Regions from separate parts of the Homo sapiens genome. Here region 2 is linked to region 1. The links are contacts of gene promoters, found by promoter capture Hi-C in blood cells and fetal thymus (Javierre and others, 2016). All regions are on one chromosome and are shown on one strand. Each heading gives the region's core, a stretch centred on a gene start or on the middle of the fragment in contact. The rest is flanking DNA. Distances are from core to core; before and after follow the strand shown. Region 1 holds the start of PIK3CG (phosphatidylinositol-4,5-bisphosphate 3-kinase catalytic subunit gamma). Region 2 overlaps DLD (dihydrolipoamide dehydrogenase).

Region 1 (4,914 bases), core at 1,595-4,094:
ACAATGTATAAATCATCTGAAGCTGAGCTAAAAAAAAATATGACAAGATGATCATGTTTTTTCAAGATGAAAGATTCCCTCGAGTCTGAGTGACATAGCTACTCCAACAGTAAATAACCAATAACAGAGTTCCCAGCCAGTATGCCCAAAGCGGTGAGGTCCTTGGGGATGCACCCGTTGTCTCACGCTTTGAGGAGCTTCCTCAGTTCACCCCAGTGTGCCATACACATGTCACCACTATTTACATGTGGCAACACATGAAATACGTATGGGAAGCACACACTTGTCTGGCCATGTCTCTCCCTGTCTCTCACACTGCTATCTTTCTCAGACTCTCCATTTCAGTGAACTGATCTGTTCACTGTCCCACAGATGCCTTCTGGCTTGAGGACTTGCCCCTGTGATTCCTCTTGCCTTGAATCCTGGACCTTCCCCTGCACATTTAAAACAAAAATTTTCAAATCTCACCCAAAGTGAACTCCTCCAGTAAACTGTTGGCTTGCATAATGAAAGTTACATCACACAATTAAACCGCTTGGACTGCATATGCTAACGCATTGCACATGTTATTCTTTCCTCTGCATGTTCTGTCTCTCCAAGTAGACCATAAATAATCTCTCTGAAGGCTGTTGGAAAGAGCCTTCCTCAAAACAAATAATTTTTAATGTCTATTGATCACTGATACTTCCTACTGTGTTCTTATTTTCTAAACTGTTCTATCTTGTCATTGCTGTGACCACTGATATGATATAGAAGGTCAGAGCCTTTGATTGTGTTTTTTTTCCCAACCAAAATGATTTCTGTGTCCACAGATTCACAGAAGGGAAAAATATTATTAAAATGGGATATTAATGAGGACTGAAGGTCTTCTAAATATTCTGGGGATATAAAATATTCTTACTCGTAAAGGATGCCTCTACACGGAGGAAGTATCCACAGAGGAAGGAAATCTTTGCCATTACTTCTTACTGGGAACATTTACTACAGATAGTCAAATTTTAGTGGCTATATTAAGATTTGGGGAAGAGCAGGGTACTTTTAATCTCAAGCCACCAATAAACCTGACATATTTGCCAGTTTAGTCATAAAACAGAAAATCCTTTGCCTAATCAAACTTAGCTTAATAGTTCCTTCAGAAGCAGGCAGGGCCAAGAGGCTGAGTCTCGTGTTTCTGGAATAATGTGGCATGTGTGTGTGTATGTGCAGTGCCAGATTGGGACTTGGCCCCCTGGAAGTGACTGAGCCAGGACAGGGAAGGGATCTATTGAATGGTCTGGGGAACAGGGCTGGCCAAGCTCATGGTCCCTCTGAGGTCAGCCCTCCCACCCTCAAACCTCCTCCCACTCCACCCACCCCCAGGAACCCTCCCACACACTCTGGGTAAAACACAGCTTGGCAAGCTCTCACATCATGGCTTGGTGGCTACAGTGTGTTGATCTTCCCTCAGGACCAACCAAGAAAGCTAGCCTTGGTGCTTCTAAAGCTGCCAGCCTCCTAAGGGAGTATTCCTATATAGGAATATACTTTGAGAAGCTGATAAGACCCCTCTAAATATTTGGGAGGCAGCCTTTGAATTAAATTATTTGCCTGCTGATGTCAACTATTAGAGTGCTATTTAAAAGTTAAAACCCAAGAGGCATATGTAAAAGGAAATAAGTCAAATCAATCATTTATCTCAATATCAGAGTAATTCAGAGGAACTCTTAATTACATACCTCCAAGAGACTTGTGAGGTCAACTCCATTCTATCTGCTGCCCTTGAAGCTCAGCTGGAGTCCCTCAACACCCCGATTGGAGGATGAACTCTAGCATAGGGAATTCTGAGATGGAGGGAGGGGGCGCTGGTTCAGGATGCTTGGAGGTTCTAGAAAGAACTGAGGTCACCTGGAAGATACAACGCTACTCTAAAAATGATTCAGGATGGCTTTTCTATGCATTCTCTACTCCCATAGGAATCAGGGGCCACCTCCCAGGATGGAATCTGCCTGATGCTGTAACAGTGTTCAGCTCCCCAATTTCCCCATGATAACAGGCAACCTCCTTCTGTTTTGTCTACAGTTAATTAATCAGTCATTGCTGACAGTAAGGCTCCATCCTCAACACAGGATATTTTCTGAAGCATTAATTTTTGTTTCAATAGTTGATCCTTGTTTGGAATATAATGTGTTACAATGTAGTGGTACTTAGTATTAAAATCAAAATACCTTTTTATTCATCTTTCAATTTTAATACTTTTAGCATTTCAACCATTATTTGAAGGGTTACTTACTGCAGTATGTCACATTTATATACACACATGCACATGCTGCAGTGCTTTCAGTTTGAGCCAGTGATATTTTAGGCCCCAAATGCTCTGAAAAAATAGAGAAAGCTCTCACCAAGCTAAGGAAGTGAGCTTGCAGACCATGCCTTTAAAAATTTTCAGCTTGATAACTTAGTCCTCAAGATGACTAGGTTTCTCTTCCCCCACCCCTCAGTTAGCATGTGCGAACAAGGATTCTTTTGAATTCCCAGGAGGGGAATGAGTTTAATTTGACTGGTAAAAGTCTTCCTAATAGGATACCTAATACTGTGGCTCTTAGAACTAGCTACAAAGATATTTCATATGTTTATGTCTCATAATGGGTAATTTTGGTTTGGATTTATGTCATTTTGTCTCAGTATCACAATTTTTGAAAAATTAGTTCAAAGAGAAAAAAAAAAGAAAAGAAAAACCATGGTAAACATTGCTCAGTCTCATACTCCTACCCTCTCTATGCTAAAACAGGAAATGCATTTCTGACACTTTTAAAATGAGCAATCACACGTATAATCAACTTGGTTAAAACTTCCTTCCTGGTAACTGCAACACTTCCTCTGCATCTGGATATGAAGGGAGCCCCAGAAAAGCGGAAGAATTTAGACGCACACTGGGTAGGTTTGAATTTGTTTTGTTTTCAAAAATTAAACAAATGATCCTTCAGCATCATCGCCTCCGCTGCTTTATCAGGTATTGCTTCCTTCTATTTTTTGCTCTTTGTGGGGTCTGACTCGGAATAGTGGCACTTCCTTCTCGGCTAGATTATCTGAAACTGTTGTCGGTTCTTGAGATGATACTACCACCGAATGTCTGTGTTTCATTGTCTAGTCCAACCTGTATTGTGGATATCTACAACGTTCCGGCAATAGTTTTGCAGGTGCATCACATTTTTGTTTTTGTTTTGGGAGGAAAAGGGAGGGCACGGCAGCCAGGCTTCATATTCCTACAAGTGCATGCTTCAAGATTACTGTACTTACAGTGTTTCCAACATCTTCTCATAAAAGGGGAAAGCTTCATAGCCTCAACCATGAAGGAAACCAGTGAGTATTAGTCAGCCTGTTTTCCTCTGCATCTTATAAGATCGTTTGGTATCACTGAGGCAGAAGTTATTGCTGTGTATTTATATGCTGCCTAAATTTGGACATGTTTTATTTCAAGTTAGTGTCAATATCAATGTATCTTACAGTTCTCTTCTTTGTTAGTTATTCTATAATGTAGCAAAAGACCAAAATGAATGTTTTAAGCCACAAGAGACAGTTCTTTGGGACAGTTGGTTTCACTTACTAAGTATAACTTCATATTTTAAGAGAGGGAATATTGGTTTTAAAAGTTAAGCCAAGATTTGAACATAAGTTTGGATCAAATGAAATTTGTCTTTCTTATCTTCTTATCAAGCTCTCCTTTTTGGTATACATCAAATGCTCCACTATTTCTTAAGGAAATAATGTAGTTTTAAGTCTAACATTAGTTATTTAAGAGAGTAAACGATATTTTCTGAAACATTAATTTTTTGTTTCAATAATTGATTCGTTTAGAATATAATGTATTACAATGTAGTGATACTAAACATTGAAAGCAAAATACCTAATCTTTCAGTGTTAATACCTTTCAAATTTCAATTATTATTTGAAGGATTTCCTATTGCAGTATGTCCTATTTATACATAAGTGCTTTGTGAAGGGTAGGTACTTACTGAATTTTGTGGAAAGAGTGAGTAGGTTAATGAGAATAAATTTGTGAATTTGTGTTACAAAAATGAAAATATTAGAGCAAAAAAGAAGTTAAATGATTGGGGGTCTTAACAGAAGGTCACTGGAGTCCAGAAATCCTGCCTTCCATCCTGTAGCTCCTCCATTATTAAGTAGAGACAGATCAAATGAATTTTAATTAATTAATTAAACAATGTTAAAATTACCTAAATGTTCCTATTGGGAGAGTACAGCCTTGGGTGACTCTTCTAAGATACTGCCCTAATATAGCAGTGACAGCCAGAATGCTGACAAATTCCATGATTCAAAATTTTACATATCTGCAAATGGTTTTGACTGTAACTTTACTAATTCCGATATGTTTTAGCTTTACAAATGAAATGACTTGCTTTCCTAATTAGAAAGAAAAAATGAAACCAAGAGGCAGGAAATTTATTAGGGAGTAGATCCTAGGTCCAGGCAGTTTGAAAACAGGCAACGTGAAGCAAGGCTGGGTGAGGTGTCTGGGTTCCAAGAAGTGTGAGACTTAACAAAGAGGAAGTAAGTTAAAGGCCTGTTTTCAAAGTGAGATTTTTTGGCATCTCGTGTTGCACCTTGTAAACTGGGACTTGAACCTTAACTGTACTATTTTAGTAATCTATATGTTTCAGTATGTTTAAGAACAATGTCCATTCTGAGCCATTATAATGTGTCATGCGCTGTGCTGGATGAGTGTTTTACCTACCTCTTTAAAATTTTCAAAGTATACAAAAGTAGAACGACCAATAAGCCCCCATATACCTGTCACCCATATTGAACAAGTATTACTTTATTTAACTCTCCCTCTGGGGCATTCATTACTAACCAGTTTGAGAGATGAGAAACAGGCTCAGAGATTAAGCAGCCCAAATCACCCAGAAAGTAAGT
Region 2 (4,914 bases), core at 1,082-3,581, 1.0 Mb after region 1:
AGGCCAGCAAAGGTTTTTTGAATGATCCTACTCTAGGGATGTGTGTTTTTGGGGAGAGGGGGTGATGCAAATTAAAATAGTCTTCTTTGTAGGTCAGAATATAGCTACTATGTATAGAATACTTATTATGTATGCTATAGGTACTATGCTAAATTATTTACATACATTATTTTATTCTGTTATCACCCTATGAAGTAGGTTTTTTTTGTGGTCTTTCTTTTGCCAGGTATGGAAACAAAGATGAAGCAGGTTAAATTACTCACCTAAGGTCACATAGGTAGTGATTATAAAGCTTGATTATTGCTCTCTGGAATTTTAGTTTATGATGGTTAAAACTGAGGAATGGAATAGTATTGAATAATGGAAAGACCACCGGAAGTAGAGTCAAAAAGCTTAGTTTGTCTCTGCAACTCACTTGCTGGTTAACCTTAGACAAGTTAATTGACCTCTCTGAACTTCTTGTTTATTCTGTGAAATGTCTTATTTATGACATCTTTATCTTCCTCATAGGAAATTCTGAGACTCAAACATGATAATATATGTGAATATGTGTTATGAATTGCTAAATGCTAGACTAGTTGGGGTTGTCAGGACAGTGGAAGGGGAAGAAAAGGGAGACTGTTTCCTAACTCTTAACAGTCACTGTTACTTTATTTGAAGTTGGATTGAGAAGAATGGGAGTAATTGGACTTACTTGCACATTTGTATTACAATTGTTAAACTCCTAAGGATACTGATCAAAATTAATTTTCAATTTTTTATCTTTATTTGAAAAATGGCCACAATAGTTAATTGAATATTCTGGTTAGCCTATTATCTTAAGGTATGTAAAAATTATCAATATGCAAGTACAAAACATATTTGTTAAATATTACATAGAAGCTGTTTTTTCCCTCATATTTCAGAAGTTAAGGACCTGAAAAAGGTAATAGGTCTTAAATTTATTGGAAATACTAAAGCATTATATAAAATTATCTTATTTAATTCTAACATCAATCATTGAAGGCAGTGTTTTCATCCCCATATTACAGAAAGGTTAAGTCATTGGGTCAAGTTCATACAACTACTCATTGGCCGTGCTGAGATATGAAGCCCAGAATGTCAGATTCCAAAGCTCAGGCTCTTTGCTTCATACATACTTGTCTTCCAGTATCACTAAATTCCGTCAGTTATTAAATCAATAGAATTTAGGAAGGTCAGTGAATACAATGTGAGTGTTACAGAACTCAGTTGTGTTTCTGTATGTTGTAATGAATAGAAAATAATAGAAAATGAAATTTGAGTATTTATGCCATTTTTCAGTAGCATCAAAGAGCATCAAGTAGTAGTAATAAAATAGTGCAGAAACTATGTAGAAAATGCTGATTTGTACTGTAAGAGGTTTAAGTATCGGGTTATTTGTTTGCTCTTCCAAAGAGCTCTTTTTGGTAAATATTAAGCAATTTACTATTTTATATCAATTTGCTTTTATCGTAGTTGATGCTGATGTAACAGTTATAGGTTCTGGTCCTGGAGGATATGTTGCTGCTATTAAAGCTGCCCAGTTAGGCTTCAAGGTAAGGTTTGAACTCAAACTAAGTATTGATTTATTTTAATTTGGGAAGGGTTGATCATATTTATAAAGTACTTTGCAGGCAAAAACATGGTAAATACTTCCTTAACTCTATAAATTACTTGTAAGCCTGAGACTAATAAAGATTAGGTTCATTTGGTTGTAGTATTCTCTTGGAATGGAAAGTGAAATCTATTAGTTTTCTTCTCTTCCCAGTACTTTTCATTTTGGCATCTAATCACACTTTGGAAGATACAGTGATAGAACTAAAAGCATATATTTGGTAATGTTAAGCACACAAAAATATCTTTTAGAATAATTCACTTTTGGGTCAGCCCAAAAGTGTTTATTATTATTCAAATGATAAATTATAAAGGACTATATATTTTAGTCTGTGAAAACATAGCCCGAATAGCTTGTTTTGTAGAAGAATTAAGACATATATTTGGAATTTTAGTGATCTGAAACATTGAGGTTATGTGCAGTTAAATAATGTTTTCTTTGGTTGTAGACAGTCTGCATTGAGAAAAATGAAACACTTGGTGGAACATGCTTGAATGTTGGTTGTATTCCTTCTAAGGTGAGCATGTGTTTTGTACAGCACAGAGATTGTTTTTGGCTAGCAACCAACTAGAAGGATGGATTGAGACTAGATTAGACAAATACACTTGTTAAAAAACAATCCAAGTTGTGGCACATTTCACACAGAGAAAAAAAAGAATGATAAAAAACACACTTCTCTTTTGTAAAACTTAAAGAGTGCTGTCACTAGTCTGCCACACATTCCTGAAATAACTTCCTTGTCTCAGAATGCCTAGCTTTCCATTCAAACAGACTCTGATGTTCTAGTTTTTTCTCTTTATCTTTCCTTCACCAGTGTAACAGATAATAGATAGTAAATTGTTCTTTTAGGTCCTTTTTGTATGTAAACATGACTGCCTTTTTCACCTGCCACCCTGAAGTGTGTACTTATGCCTTTACTTTTAAAGAAAGTAAAAATGTCTTTTTCATTCTTGTTTGTTGAATGTTTTTCACATCATTATTGTTTGTCTTTGATTAATAAGAGAAACTGAATTGGTGTAGTGCCATATACTATTCCATGTAGAGAATGCCATGTCTTTTTTTTAACTTCTTTTTAAATTTTTATTGTAAATTGACAAATTACAATTGTATATATTTATGGCATACAAAGTGGTGTTATGATTTATGACTATAATGTGGAATAATTTAGTCAAGTTAATTAACATATTCATTACCACAGTACTTATCATTTTTGTGATGAGAACATTTGAAAGAGAATATCGGCCGGGCGCGGTGGCTCACGTCTGTAATCCCAGCACTTTGGGAGGCCGAGGCGGGTGGATCACCTGAGGCTGGGAGTTTGGGACCAGCCTGACCAACATGGAGAAACCCCATCTCTACTAAAAATACAAAATTAGCCAGGCGTGGTGATGCATGCCTGTAATCCCAGGGACAATTGCTTGAGCCCGGGAGGCGGAGGTTGCGGTGAGCTGAGATGGCGCCATTGCACTCCAGCTTGGGCAATAAGAACGAAACTCCGTCTCAAAAAATGAAAAGAAAGACTATCATTTCATAAGTGCTTTTTGATTATTTGAAGTCTGTTTATGAATATTTGATAATTTGATCTTTTTAATTTCCTTTAGGCTTTATTGAACAACTCTCATTATTACCATATGGCCCATGGAAAAGATTTTGCATCTAGAGGAATTGAAAGTAAGTATACTTTTCATGCTTAATGATATTACCAGACTGCTTGACTTGGCTCTTCTGTCTAAAGACTTAAATGTGTCTAACGTACGCATAATAGATGTTTAGTGAAGGAAGAGTAAAATAAATAATCTAAAAAATGTGGAGAGATTTACTTAAAAAAGAAGGCCTAAATCCAGATTTCTCCCAGCCAAGTATAACCAAGCCTAACCCTGCAAATCCAGATTTCTACCATTATATCTTCTGTTCCTTTGCCAACTTTTTCCTGAGGTTTGCCTTTATGTGTTTTTGAAGAGTCAGTTTTCATTTCCTAAAATCTGGAAATCACTGAGAAGGCTGGATTCCTGAGTACTATGGGGAGATAGAGGAAGGAAGGAAGGCCCACTTAAGCTGTTGATAGTAGAAAAATTAGAGGAGAGAAAGAGTGAGGCATAGCGGAAAAGGAAGAGGACATTTCATAACGTATCTTGTCTCCTGACATACTTTTTGAGCTGTTTTAATCTTTTGTCTCCAATTATTGTTGTTGTTAGATACTTCCAGAAAGGTAGTCTCTTCTGGGCAGGACCTAGTCATAACCTTGGGTTGTTACTTTTCCTTCATTTGTTTCTTTACAGAGGTAGGTTTGAGGGGCTACTTAAGGCAATCCATTGGGTATAGAGATGATGTATATGCACTAAAGCAAATAGAATATCATACTAGTTGAAAAATGGAATGACGTAAAGAAAGAAGAGCTAGGGGTAGTCAGGAGACCTGCATTGTAGGCAAGGCTTTTACATCCTAGCTCTGTGACCTTGGGTAAATCAGAAATCTCTCAGAGTCTCTTTTTCCTTATCTCTAATATATGTGTTGGTTATATGAGGTACTTTCTAAGATACCCTTCTTACCTCTAAAGTTTAATTGAGTTGAGCATTTTTATCTAATACTGTTGCTTCAGAGTTCTCTTCTGAGTTGAATGAGTGATTAAAACCTAGGTGATTAAACTTTTTAATGTTAAGCTTCTGTATTTGAAATTTTTAAACGTGTATTTTTTATTTGTTTTGTTTCATGAAATCTAGCATTTTCCTTTATTTAAAATTTCAGATGATGTTTTACTTTGTCATTTCTACTTACATATCTTCCAGACTTATAACCATCGTAAAGTGTTCAGAGGATATGTTATCACAGTGGGATATAATGTTTTATTTTGGACTGCCTTTTTACCCAAGGTAGACATTTTATAGTGTTTGATAGGTTCTGTTTCTGTGATACAATGATGTTGGCCTTTTGTCAACTATAATTATAAGTTATTACATTTTGAAACTTTAATACTGCCTTTTATAAGCATTAGGTTGAAATTTTCCAGTTGGTGAGTGAAAAACACTGCATATTGCTTCAAGAATTTAGCTAAGAACTAAAGATTAATTGAACAAATTACAGTGTCCGAAGTTCGCTTGAATTTAGACAAGATGATGGAGCAGAAGAGTACTGCAGTAAAAGCTTTAACAGGTGGAATTGCCCACTTATTCAAACAGAATAAGGTCAGTGTTTAATATTCAGATTTCTGCTTTACTTTGAATACAAATTAAACTTTGCATTATAGAGTGATGATATTTGAACTTGGTTACAGGGGAATATTTATTTAATTTAAAATAGCT

The links. The method cuts DNA at HindIII sites, captures the fragments that hold promoters and counts their contacts. A CHiCAGO score of 5 or more calls a contact.
Region 2: a contact is called between a fragment that was not itself captured here and the fragment with the promoter of PIK3CG in region 1, in 1 of 17 cell types (naive CD4 T cells). The highest score is 5.0, in naive CD4 T cells.

The regions. Positions count from the first base shown.
Region 1 is chr7:106,862,438-106,867,351 of GRCh38, forward strand. PIK3CG (phosphatidylinositol-4,5-bisphosphate 3-kinase catalytic subunit gamma) reads left to right here and starts at 2,845. Exons shown (of 11, transcript NM_001282426.2): 1 at 2,845-2,989. RefSeq lists a silencer at 127-421 and an enhancer at 2,917-3,016. The HindIII fragment of the contact is 4,956 bases long and covers 1-3,308 here.
Region 2 is chr7:107,900,262-107,905,175 of GRCh38, forward strand. It overlaps DLD (dihydrolipoamide dehydrogenase), which reads left to right. Exons shown (of 14, transcript NM_000108.5): 3 at 1,477-1,556; 4 at 2,064-2,132; 5 at 3,217-3,286; 6 at 4,697-4,797. Among named protein-coding and RNA genes, the nearest start is that of DLD, 12 kb to the left of the region's middle. The HindIII fragment of the contact is 3,883 bases long and covers 391-4,273 here.